2 separate regions of the Homo sapiens genome follow, and region 1 is linked to region 2. Evidence: promoter capture Hi-C in human tissues and cell types (Jung and others, 2019). All regions are on one chromosome and are shown on one strand. The core of a region is centred on a gene start or on the middle of the fragment in contact, and the rest is flanking DNA. Distances in the headings are between cores, read along the strand shown.

Region 1 (5,535 bases), core at 311-2,810, 310 kb after region 2:
TCTCTTGTATTTTAGTTAGGAACATTTCTGAAAATGGCAGCAAATAACCTTACTCAAGTGGCTTAAATAATAATGGAAAATTGATTGGATCTTGAAGAGAATAGGGAATGAGTTTAGCCAGGGTGAAAACTATGAGTTCAGGACTTTTTTTTTTTTTCTCTCTCTCTCTCCTTTTTGAATGAGCTCCTTTGGTGTTGGTTCTGTTTTGGGCAGAAGTTCCCCTGATGGTAGTAAAATTGTTATCAGCAGCTTCCCAAATTTCTCATTCACATGGAAATAAAAGAGTAAATTTTTTTTTCTAATCTAAATGTTGCACAGAAATAACAGCTTCCTTATGCATTGATCAATTCAGGTCACAAGTCCATCCCTGAACTAATCACTATGAATGAAACATGACCCATAGATATTAAGGTAGAATAATTTTCTTTGAAAGGATTTGGTTGTGTGAGGGCAGACAATAAATTCTGTTACTATTACTAAGAGAAGCAGCAGCCCAGAACAGCAATTATCTATGACAAATTTTATCCCATTCATGTTGTCTCTTCTAAATTGAGATCACAAGATTTCCTTATCATGCAGAGAACTACTCTTTATCTATATTCTGGGTAATTCCTCTCTTTCCTTTGGGTGAAGTATGTTTTTTTATCTGCCTTTTGCATATATGTTTTGTTTTCCTTTTTTTCGGCACAGCTTTTATGTATTAGTCCCATGCTGGTTTCTTTCTTTTTCTTTCTTTCTTTCCCTCTTTCTTTCTTTCTTTCTTTCTTTCTTTCTTTCTTTCTTTCTTTCTTTCTTTCTTTCTTTCTTTTCTTTCTTTCTTTCTTTCCTTCTTTTTTTTTTGAGACGGAGTCTCATTCTATCACCTAGGCTGGAGTGCAGTGGCACAATCTCGGCTCACTGCAACCTCTGCCTCCCAGGTTCAAGTGATTCTCCTGCCTCAGCTACCCATGTAGCTGGGATTACAGGCACGCGCTGCCACACTCAGCTAATTTTTTTGTATTGTTAGTGGAGACGGGGCTTCACCATGTTAGCCAGGCTGGTCTTGAACTCTTGATCTCAAGTGAGCCGCCTGCCTTGGGCTCCCAAAGTGCTGGGATTACAGGCATGAGCCACAGTGCCTGGCTGGTTTTTTTTTTTTATAGTTATTACTCATCCTCAAATGGATGCCAGAAACATGCTAATACATACATACACATGTACATACATACATACATACATACATATTGTAGTTAGGAATGGTTGAGGATGACAGCAAAGTATTTAAATCATCAGCTCTGTGTTGCAGTTTGACTATAACCGTTTCCCCTCCCTCTTTCACCCCACTTCACCTCCAGAGGTCTCCCTTAGCTAGAACACCACATTGTGAATCTCTTCTTTCTCTCTCTCTCTCTCTCTCTCTCTCACACACACACACACACACACACACACTCCTCACCTACTCTTCCCCTACTTCTCACAGCATGATTTGACTTTCTACTGCATTTTTCCTGCATTCCGAGTCATTATCCTGGGTCTCCCTAAGGACACCCCCCTCTCACCATTCTCAAAGCCTCTTTATACCCAAAGAGCTCAACACTCTAATCAAAGGAATTTTTAGGCTACTGGTGACATAAACTTCTTGGGAAACTAGTTGTCTTGGTCTAGCTCTTAGGAGTCTCTCTTCTCTCATCTTCGTCTAGACTTCCCAGTGCTTGGCAGATATGCCTCCTAGTTTGTGGCTTGTGGTTGTGTCCTGTTCCAGGTCTCACTGAAGATAGATTATTTTTCCTCTACTTTTTTTGTTTGCTTTTGGTGGAGTTTGAGGGAGTGGAGAAGAGTAAAACATCTTCTACTTCCCTTTCTTTAACCAAAAATCTTCAGAATTCTTTCAGTCAATTTGAGATGTTCACTTGGATGTCCCCCAGACACATCAAAACTAACATGTTAAAAAATGTAAACATATTCCTTTCTGCCTTGTACCACAAGCCTTTTCCTTCTTCAGTTTTTCTTATCTCAGTCAGAAGAACCACCATGCCCCTGTTGCCTTGATCCGGGAATGCTGGAGATTTTCCGGACTTCTTTCTCTTTCATACTTACAACACCTAATGGTTGTCACGTCTTGTATATTTTATCTCTTCTATACCTTTCAAGCTCATCCCTCTCTCTCAGTGCCCACTGCCATTTCTGTTTTTTTTGTTTGTTTGTTTTGTTTTGCTTTGTTTTTTGTTGAGACAGAGTTTCGCTCTTGTCACCCAGGCTGGAGTGCAATGGCCTGATCTCGGCTCACCACAACCTCCACCTCCCGGGTTCAAGCGATTCTCCTGCCTCAGCCTCCCGAGTAGCTGGGATTACAGGCATGCGCCACCACAGCCGGCTAATTTTGTATTTTTAGTAGAGATGGGGTTTCACCATGTTGGTCGGGCTGGTCTTGAACTCCCGACCTCAGGTGATCCGCCCTCCTTGGCCTCCCAAAGTGCTGGGATTACAGGCATGAGCCACCATGCCCGGCCTGCCCACTGCCTTTTCTAAGATGCCACCTCTTTGTATTAGGTTGGTGCCATTACTTTTAATGGCAGAAACCGCGATTACTTTTGCACCAACATAATAATTATCGCAATTACTGCTCTCCTCCAGGACTGGCTGGCCTTGATGTTGTTTGACCATTTTTCTGCTGTGTTAGAATGCTAAAGAATAGATAGGAGAGAAATGGGAGAGGTATACAGTATAAATTGTCTCTTCCAAATCTGTTCTTGAGCAACTTTCAGAAAAATCACAAATGTGTCTCTGATAGTGGGTTCTTTATAACATGATAAAGTCTACACTTTTGTTCTTAAGAAGAATGATATACTTAACTACGTTCTTAAAAACAACAAAAGGTTCTCATTTTTCTGGTATGTTAGCAGTGATGGCAGGAGGGTGGAGTCCTGGGGACCAATTCAGCAGTACAGCCAAGGGAAAAAATAAAGCTTCAGTCAGTCTTTCAGCAGGCCAGGGAAAATTATTGCTAGAGGACACCTAGTGGCGCTTTGTAGTAATTCACTTACACTAACAAATTGTACATTTGAATATTAAGAGCACTCACTATACCAGGAACTTGTCAACAAATATAACACAACCATGATAAAACAGCAAAGTACAAACCAAGCCTGGTGTTAAATCTAGTTGTATTGGTTGGTATGGGCTAACTGCTGTAACAAACAACCTCCAAACTTAAGGTGCTTAACTTAATAGAGTTTATTTTGTGTCCTCACACAGTACGGATGCTCAGCTGGTGACCTTCCATACAATAACACAGAAAAAACACTTGATCGCATGGAAAACAATGTACCTTATACTTGTATAGGAATATTTAACATCATAAATACATCACTTCTCAAAACAGAACAAATAAAACAAAATACAACATTGTATGTAGAAATGGGCATGGAAAATTGGCAAGACTCATTGAACTACATTTAAGAGCTATGTAATTCACTATACATAAATTTTACCTCAATTTAAAAATGAATTTTTTTTTCCAAAAGAACATCCAGTAGAAAGCTGACAAAAAATAGCAATAAAGGTTAAGGGTAGGGGACACACCATATGTTAAAACTCATGAAATCCCAATAATTAAAAGAGAGTGGTACTATAATTTTAAAAAATTACTAAAAAGGAGAGAGATTGGTATGGGCATGAGAGTAGGCAGGTTAACGAGCTAGAACAGAAAACCCAGATATGCCCAAGTGCATACAGAAATGTAATAAAAAATAAAGTAGTCATCAGAAATCCAGTCACCTATTCAATGAATGTATTTGGGATAACTGTAAATATCTGTATTCTGCTTGGAGAAAGGAAGAAAAGAAGGAAAGAGAAACAAAAGTTATTCATGCTTGAGAAAAATCCCCTCAAGCATTGTATTAGTCAGGGTTCTTCAGAGAACAGAACCAATAGGATGTGTGTGCATATATGTAAGGAATTTATTATGAGGAGCAGCTCATGAAATTATGGAGGCTAAGTCCCAAGGTCTGCAGGGTGACTCAGGAAGCTGGAGACCTAGGAGAGCTAATGATACAATTTCAGTGTTAAGGCTGGCAGGCTAGACACCCAGGAAGAGCTGATTTTTCAGTTCAACTCTGAAAGCAGGAAAAAGCTTACATCCCAGTTTAAGGCAGTCAGGCAGAAAGAATGCTCTCTTATTGGGGGCGGGTCAGCCTTTTCTTCTATGCAGGCCTTCAGTTGATGGGATAAGGTCTTCCCTCATTAGGGAGTATACTCTGCTATACTCAGTCTACCGATTAATCTCATGCAAACACCTTCACAGATACACCCAGAATAGTGTTTAACTAAATATCCAGGCATCCTATGGCCCACTGAAGTTGACACATAAAATTAACCATCACAGTCATCATAAAAGATTTACATTCTCTGACATTTTATTCTCTTTCCTGAAATCTTGCTGTCACAAAGGATCATAATATTTGACCTGAAAAGGATGATAGAAGAGATATTTATTGCAGAATTTTGCAGCTATATTTTTAACATACACATGGAATTTCTCCTCTACTTCTTGCTGAATACAGGTAAGCCTCAAATCTATGACATAATATTTTTTAAATGAAAAAACATAGAGAAACTCTTGCTCTTTTCATCTGACAGAAAGGCATCAAATCATGTCACCTCTGGTTGCCCACTAAATTAAAAAGACCACTTGCCATTGATTGTTGCATTTTAGGATCCTATCTATTCCTGTGTTAGCACACTCCTGACCAAAAGGACACACACTGTTCCTCATTCTCTTTTTTCTATAATGGGTTTGCATTTGATCTATGCTTTGGGTGATTAATGGTGGTTAGTTAACTTTGATATTTAGCTTGATATTGATATTATGTATTGATATTATATCAATATCTGATATTGAGCTTACTCTGATATTTCAGTGAGTGCAACAGAAATCACTCCAAGGTAGGTGAAAGTATGGAATCATAAATATATTCTTGAGCTTAATATGACATTCATGTTTGAATCCTGCATGGTCCAAAATTGTCCAAATGATCTCACAATTGGAAAGGCTCTTCAAGAGGTAGAATTTGAACAGAAGGCTTTCTGAGTATGTCAACCAGTGTCACTTTTAAACCTAAGGGCACCTTTCTGCAGAGCATTGTAGTCCTGGGGAAAGGAAGAACTTAACTGCTAACAGGGATCACCTCGGCATGGTTTAGCTAATTGATATCAATGGCTCACATGATTCACTGATTTTACATCTGCTTTTTTCCTTTGAAGCAATTCAAAACCATATTATTTGGTGTCTTAATTGAATCAAGCTAAAAGAAAGTCTTTCTGATTTTTACAGAAAAAAATCAATAACCAAAGATAACTGCTGAGTTAAGGCAGCATTCCATCCTCCATGTCTCATAATGAGAATACATTAGCAAATAAAATGATCAAGAATGAGCCTTTTAAATGACAAATGGCTTTGTAATACTAAGTCTTAATTACCATGACTAAGACACATGCCCATTACACCAGAAACATTCTTTGTTCTTCCAGTTTTCTCACAGTGCAAATTGTGTGTAT
Region 2 (5,786 bases), core at 3,021-5,520:
TCCTAAAAACTAACAAAAGGACATTCACAAAGGGACTGATTTACTACATCTATTTTTAACATACTTTGAGCATTAAGACTTATCCTTTAATACACAATATTAACTAAAATGCACATATAGAACAATGTTTAGACCATCTGAACTAATCTCAGGAGCACAGAACCCTTCTCCCTGCATACCTCCTCTGCCCACCCCCGCTTCCCCCGCCCCAACCACCTAATGAATAGTCTGCATTCGCTCCTAAGCATCACCTTTTAACAATTCCATTCCCAAATGCAACCACTCCTAGGAAGTACTGAAAACAAATGCTTAGAGGGGTGTTACTTAAGCCCTCTACTTTTAACCTACATTGTGCACTTTTTTTTTTTGAAACGGAGTCTCGCTCTGTCGCCAGGCTGGAGTGCAGTGGTGCGATCTCGGCTCACTGCAACCTCCACCTCCCAAGTTCAAGCGATTCTCCTGCCTCAGCCTCCCGAGTAACTGGGGCTACAGGTGGACACCACCACGACCAGCTAATTTTTGTATTTTTAATAGAGATGGGGTTTCACTATGTTGGCCAAGATGGTCTCGATCTCTTGACCCCGTGATCCGCCTGCCTCGGCCTCCCAAAGTGCTGGGATTACAGGTATGAGCCACTGCAACAGGCCGTTGTACACTTTTAAACACCTAGAAAGACTAGATGTTTCAAACTGGACTTAAGTTTTTCATTATATACACAGTAGCATTGAATAAATGGTATACATACATAACACAGACTGTAATTTGAGTGTCTTCTAAATAGGAACATTCTGGCCTAGAACCCTTCCCTTTCCCACCTCTACCAACCCCGTGGACAGCTATAAGCCATCTGTAATGCTTAGGGGGGATTTTAACAATCTCACTTCTGTTTTTAAGAAGTCTTTCCTATGAATTTTAACACAAAGTGTACTCAATGTAGTAGTTTACTAATTCTACTTTTGTCATATACTGGCAACCTTTTTAACGTCGACTGGATGTAAATTAGGACTCCTTTGTCCACTTATATACACTATATACACAGCACAGTAAATGAAAATGCAGACATAAGGGACAATGGTCAATGTGCCTCCTCATAAACACACTGGACACTGGTAGAAAGCCCTTTGCACTTTGTGCTCCTCCTTCCCCCTGAACCAGCACAAATATCAAAATGTGTACTGCTCAGAGAATTGATCAATTTCCAAGACAATATTTCATATCAAAAGGATAGCTACAAAATGTGTTATTTACTACCTCTACTTTTAACATACTTTGTGCACTTCTAAACATCTAGAAAGACTAGATGTTTCAAATAAGGACTTAAGTTTGTCCGCTATATACACAGTAGTGTTGAATAAACTACACACATGTAACAATGGGTATATCTGAAAGTGTCTTCTAAATAGGAACATTCTGGTCTAGAACCCTTCATTCCTTCCAACTCCTCTCCACCACCAACCTGGTGGATATAGGCACGTGTCACTTAGAGCTGATGTTATCTCACTTCCAAAAGTCCTTTTCACAAGACAGCTTTTCTACAAATTTTAACAAAGTGTACAAAATGTGTTAGTTTACTAACTCTACTTCTGTCATACATTGGCAACCTCTTTAGTATCTAGAGACTAGATATTATAAAATCGGGACTCATTTGTCCATTATATACACAGTATAGCAAAGTTAAATGAAATGCATGTAACATATAGGCAATGGATTAAGCTGAAATTTGTTAATAAACAATGTCAAAACACCATTTGCAATTTCTTCCCTCCCACCTCCCAGGTGGTTCAACAATTCCACTTCCAAACAGCATTTCCCATCAGTTTTTAAAAGCTATTTACAAAGTGTTATTCTACTACCACTTTTAAATACATCAAGCACTTCCAAATATCTAGAAAGACTAGATATTTCATATAACTTGTCCACCACGTACACAGCACTGTTAAATAAAATTGCACACACATAACAATGGTTATCATCTGAGGTATCTTCTAAATGTGGCCATTTTGGCCTTGAATCATTCCCCCCTCCCTTCCTTCTCTGCCTTCAATCCAGTGGACAAGTACAGGCACATGTAATGCTTAGAGATGGTTGACCAAATTCCTATGCAAAAGTCATTTACAGAAGACAAGTTTTCGTATGAATTTCAACACAAAGAGTACAAAATATGCTAATTTTACTACATTGTCATACACTGGCAACCTCTTTAACATCTAGAGACTAGATGTTGAAAAATTAGGACTATTTGTCCATTATATACACTATATACAGAGCAAAACAAAATGCACAAAACATATAGAAAAATGGTGTCTGAAAACGTCCAAGTATGAACACACTAGTATATTACCTTTTGCAATTTCTTCCCTCCCACTTCCTCTAAACCATTGAACAAGTATAGACATTACTATACTGCTCACAAAGGTGGCTTCACAATTCAATTTCCAGAAGTATTTCCTATGAATTTTAGCAAAAAGATATTTACAAAGTGGTATTTTACTACCTCTACATTTAACATACATTGGGCACTTCTAAACATCTAGATAGACTAGATGTTTCAAGTAAGGAGTTAATTTGTCTACTATGTATACAGCAGTCTTGAATAAACTGCAAACATGTAAAAACAGTTATAATTTGAAAGAGTCTTCCAAATGTGAACATTCTGGCCTAGAACCCTTCCCATTTCCATCAACCCAGAATACATCAAATTTTCAGAAGACAATCTTTCCTAGGACTTGTAAAACAAAATGTACAAAATATATTAGTTTACTAACTCTACTTTTGTCATACACTGGCAACCTCTTTAACATCCAGAAAGACTAGATGTTGTCAATTAGGATTCGTCTGTCCTTTATGTACACTATATACACAGATAAGTAAAACAAAACGCACAGAGATAATGATTCATCTTGCCTCGCTGTAAACAGGATGTCATAGAGCTCTCTGCACCTCCCCCTCCTCTCTCTTCCCCTGAACCACACTGCACAATGAGCATTACTCAACAGGTGATTTGGCCATTCCCCCCAAAAAACATTTCCTATGATTTGTAACAAAAAGGTATTTACAAAATGTGATTTTGCTACCTCTAATTTTAACATATCAGGCACTTCAGAACATCTAAAAAGAATAGACATTTCAAAAAAGCTTAGCATTGTCAACTATATACACAGTAGTGAAGAATAAAATGCACACAAAACAATGGATAGAATATGAAAATGTCTTCTAAATATGACCAGTCTAGCACAGAACCTTCTTCTCTTCCTTCTCAGGTCTTCCACCTCCATGTCATCTAACCCACTTAACAAACGTGGACGTATCGCTTCCAGAGGCCGTCTTAACAACTCCATTTCTAAAAGTCATCTCCAGAAGACATGTGTTTTCTATGATTTCTTTTAAACAAATGAGAATTTACAAGATGTGTGACTTTCTATTTTATCATATGTCGGCAACCTCTTTCCATCTAGAAGGGCTAGATGTGACAAATGTTTTCTATTAAAAGGTTGGGGTGAAGTTGAGAGCAGCTTTTTCATATTATATACACAGGCCTTACATAAACGGCCAGTAAATCTTCCCAGAGGGTGGTGGGCATTTCCAACGGGCCAAACGTGGCCTGTCATTCTACCATTTCTCTCTTCTGACAGCAAAGTCTGGTAGAACAAAGACCAACCGCCCGATAGCCGCTAACCGTTCCACCCGTCGTCTTTCGGGACTTCACTCACCTTCCAGGCCCCTGAAGGCCTTTGTCCGTTGTCGTCAGGACTAGGTCGGTCTCGCCCAATGGCGACAGAGTGGTCACCCGGGAACCGGATCTGCGCGGCTCCGTGGCCTAAAGAGGTGGCCGAGCCTGCTTGCGTCCCTAGGCCGCCTTCCCGGGCCCTCCACGCCTTAATGGCCTCCGCCGCGCGGCGTTCAAGCGGCCGCCATACTTTCCGGCCCACCACGCCCGGCGCCGCCCAAAGGCGCTGCGTCCCAGCGACTCTGCGGGGGTTTCGTCGAGGCCCGGCAGGCTTGGGTCGGGAGACGCGGCGGCCGGCGGGGTCCCGTCGGGGAGACGCAGCCGCCGCCATCAGTCATCCAGGTGGGGTGGGAAAGAGAGGTTCGCTGCGGCTTCAAGGCCTGGGCACAGCCAGTGGGCAGCCACAGCAGAGGCCTCCGGTATCTGCAGGGCAGAGGCCTCGGCCTGTCCCGGGGCCCCCCAGTTCACCCGCCGGCCCGGGTCCGGAGGGCCTGGAGGGCCCTGGAGGAGCTGGCTGCGTTCTGCGTCTCTCCGCGCTCTCTGCCAGACCGGAACTGAAGTTAGATTTTTGTATCAGGAAATATAAAAATATCTTCTGCTCTGCTCAGTTGAATGTTCATTTTTTTCTCATAGCATCATGTTTTTTTCCTTTTCTTTATAATTAAGACAGTTCATCATGTACATAAAAATCACATACATGAAGGCACACACATACACAAATGTACTTGTCTTAGATATTCTCTTAGGTTCAGTTGGGTTTATTAATATATAAATATTAACAGGTAAAAATAAAGTAGTAATTGTTACAAGGATTGTTATAAGGCCTGTCACTCTGGAAGGCCACATTTGTGTCTCCAAAGTCCAGCACAACATTTTAAAGAAGGATGAATTTGAAAGTCATTGGATGAGACAAGTATGCTATCTTCATGACCCCTGAAAACATTTGAGTTTCACAGGTGATAAGATTTGTCAGCATTTCTGAGTATTTATTTGTGTCATATTATTGAAATTAAAATTTGACCATAGCATGTGAATTAAATAGGTTACCACTTTTTAATGTAATAGAGAACAATAAAATATTTATATTATGTCTTAGGCACTTAGTTTTAAAACCTCACCCACTTTTAGCATACAATTATGCTTTTAAAAGGTTTAAGAAATATAAAAAGAGCTGAAATGACTTAAAATATAGATTATAGAAAATACTAATAGATGAAATAAATACATTTATGATGAAAAGAAGAACAGATAATATTGATGAAAGAATATTTGGAAATGGAAAGTAAAACACTAAATTAGAATGTTGTAATCAATATAGATAAGTATTTGAAATGAAAAACGTATTTCAGCTGAGTATTTTTGCACTGAAAGATATTGGGCCTACGGTACAATATGTTAAATACATATAGTAATATATTATTGATAATTATTAAGACTATGTACTAACACCTATCAAGATAAATAACACCAGCCATATATTTTTGGGGAGTTTATTTATTGGATCCCTTTTTACCCACAATATATAGTACAAATTCCATGAGGGTAAGAGTGTCTGCTTTGTCACTATGACAAAGTACTTGGTACTTAGCACATCATTTGTCATATTAAAGGTGCTTAATGAAATGAATATTTGTTACAAGAGTGGCCAGACTGCAAGTTCAGTTGACAGATCTGTGGTTCATTTGAGCCTATTAATCCTATTAAAATATTGCACAAACAATGCTTTATAGATAGAAGTGATTACCTTGCTGAAACAGAGGTATCAGATGGCACAGACTGTGCATGGACTGAAAGTATTTATTCATCAGCTGATTATGAAATCTAAACTTGTCATGTGAAAAAGTGATATAAGACTTTTAAGGTCAGGCGCCATGGCTCACTCCTATAATCCCAGCATTTGGGAGGCCAAGGTGGGTGGATTATTTGAGGTCAGGAGTTCGAAACCAGCCTGATCAATACGGTGAAACCCCGCCTCTACTAAAAGTACAAAAATTAGCCTGATGGGGTGGTGGGTGCCTGTACTCCCAGCTACTTGGGAGGCTGAGGCGGGAGAATCGCT

What was found. Contacts are between HindIII fragments. The study calls those that stand out against the background at their distance.
Region 1: a fragment that was not itself captured here is called in contact with the fragment with the promoter of OVCH1-AS1 in region 2 in 1 of the 25 tissues and cell types used here (small bowel).

What each region holds. Positions count from the first base shown.
Region 1 is chr12:29,071,285-29,076,819 of GRCh38, reverse strand. No RefSeq gene overlaps it. Among named protein-coding and RNA genes, the nearest start is that of FAR2, 75 kb to the left of the region's middle. The HindIII fragment of the contact is 3,937 bases long and covers 1-3,528 here.
Region 2 is chr12:29,387,778-29,393,563 of GRCh38, reverse strand. It overlaps OVCH1-AS1 (OVCH1 antisense RNA 1), which reads right to left and starts at 4,270. Exons shown (of 2, transcript NR_073172.1): 1 at 3,711-4,270. The HindIII fragment of the contact is 7,391 bases long and covers 1,452-5,786 here.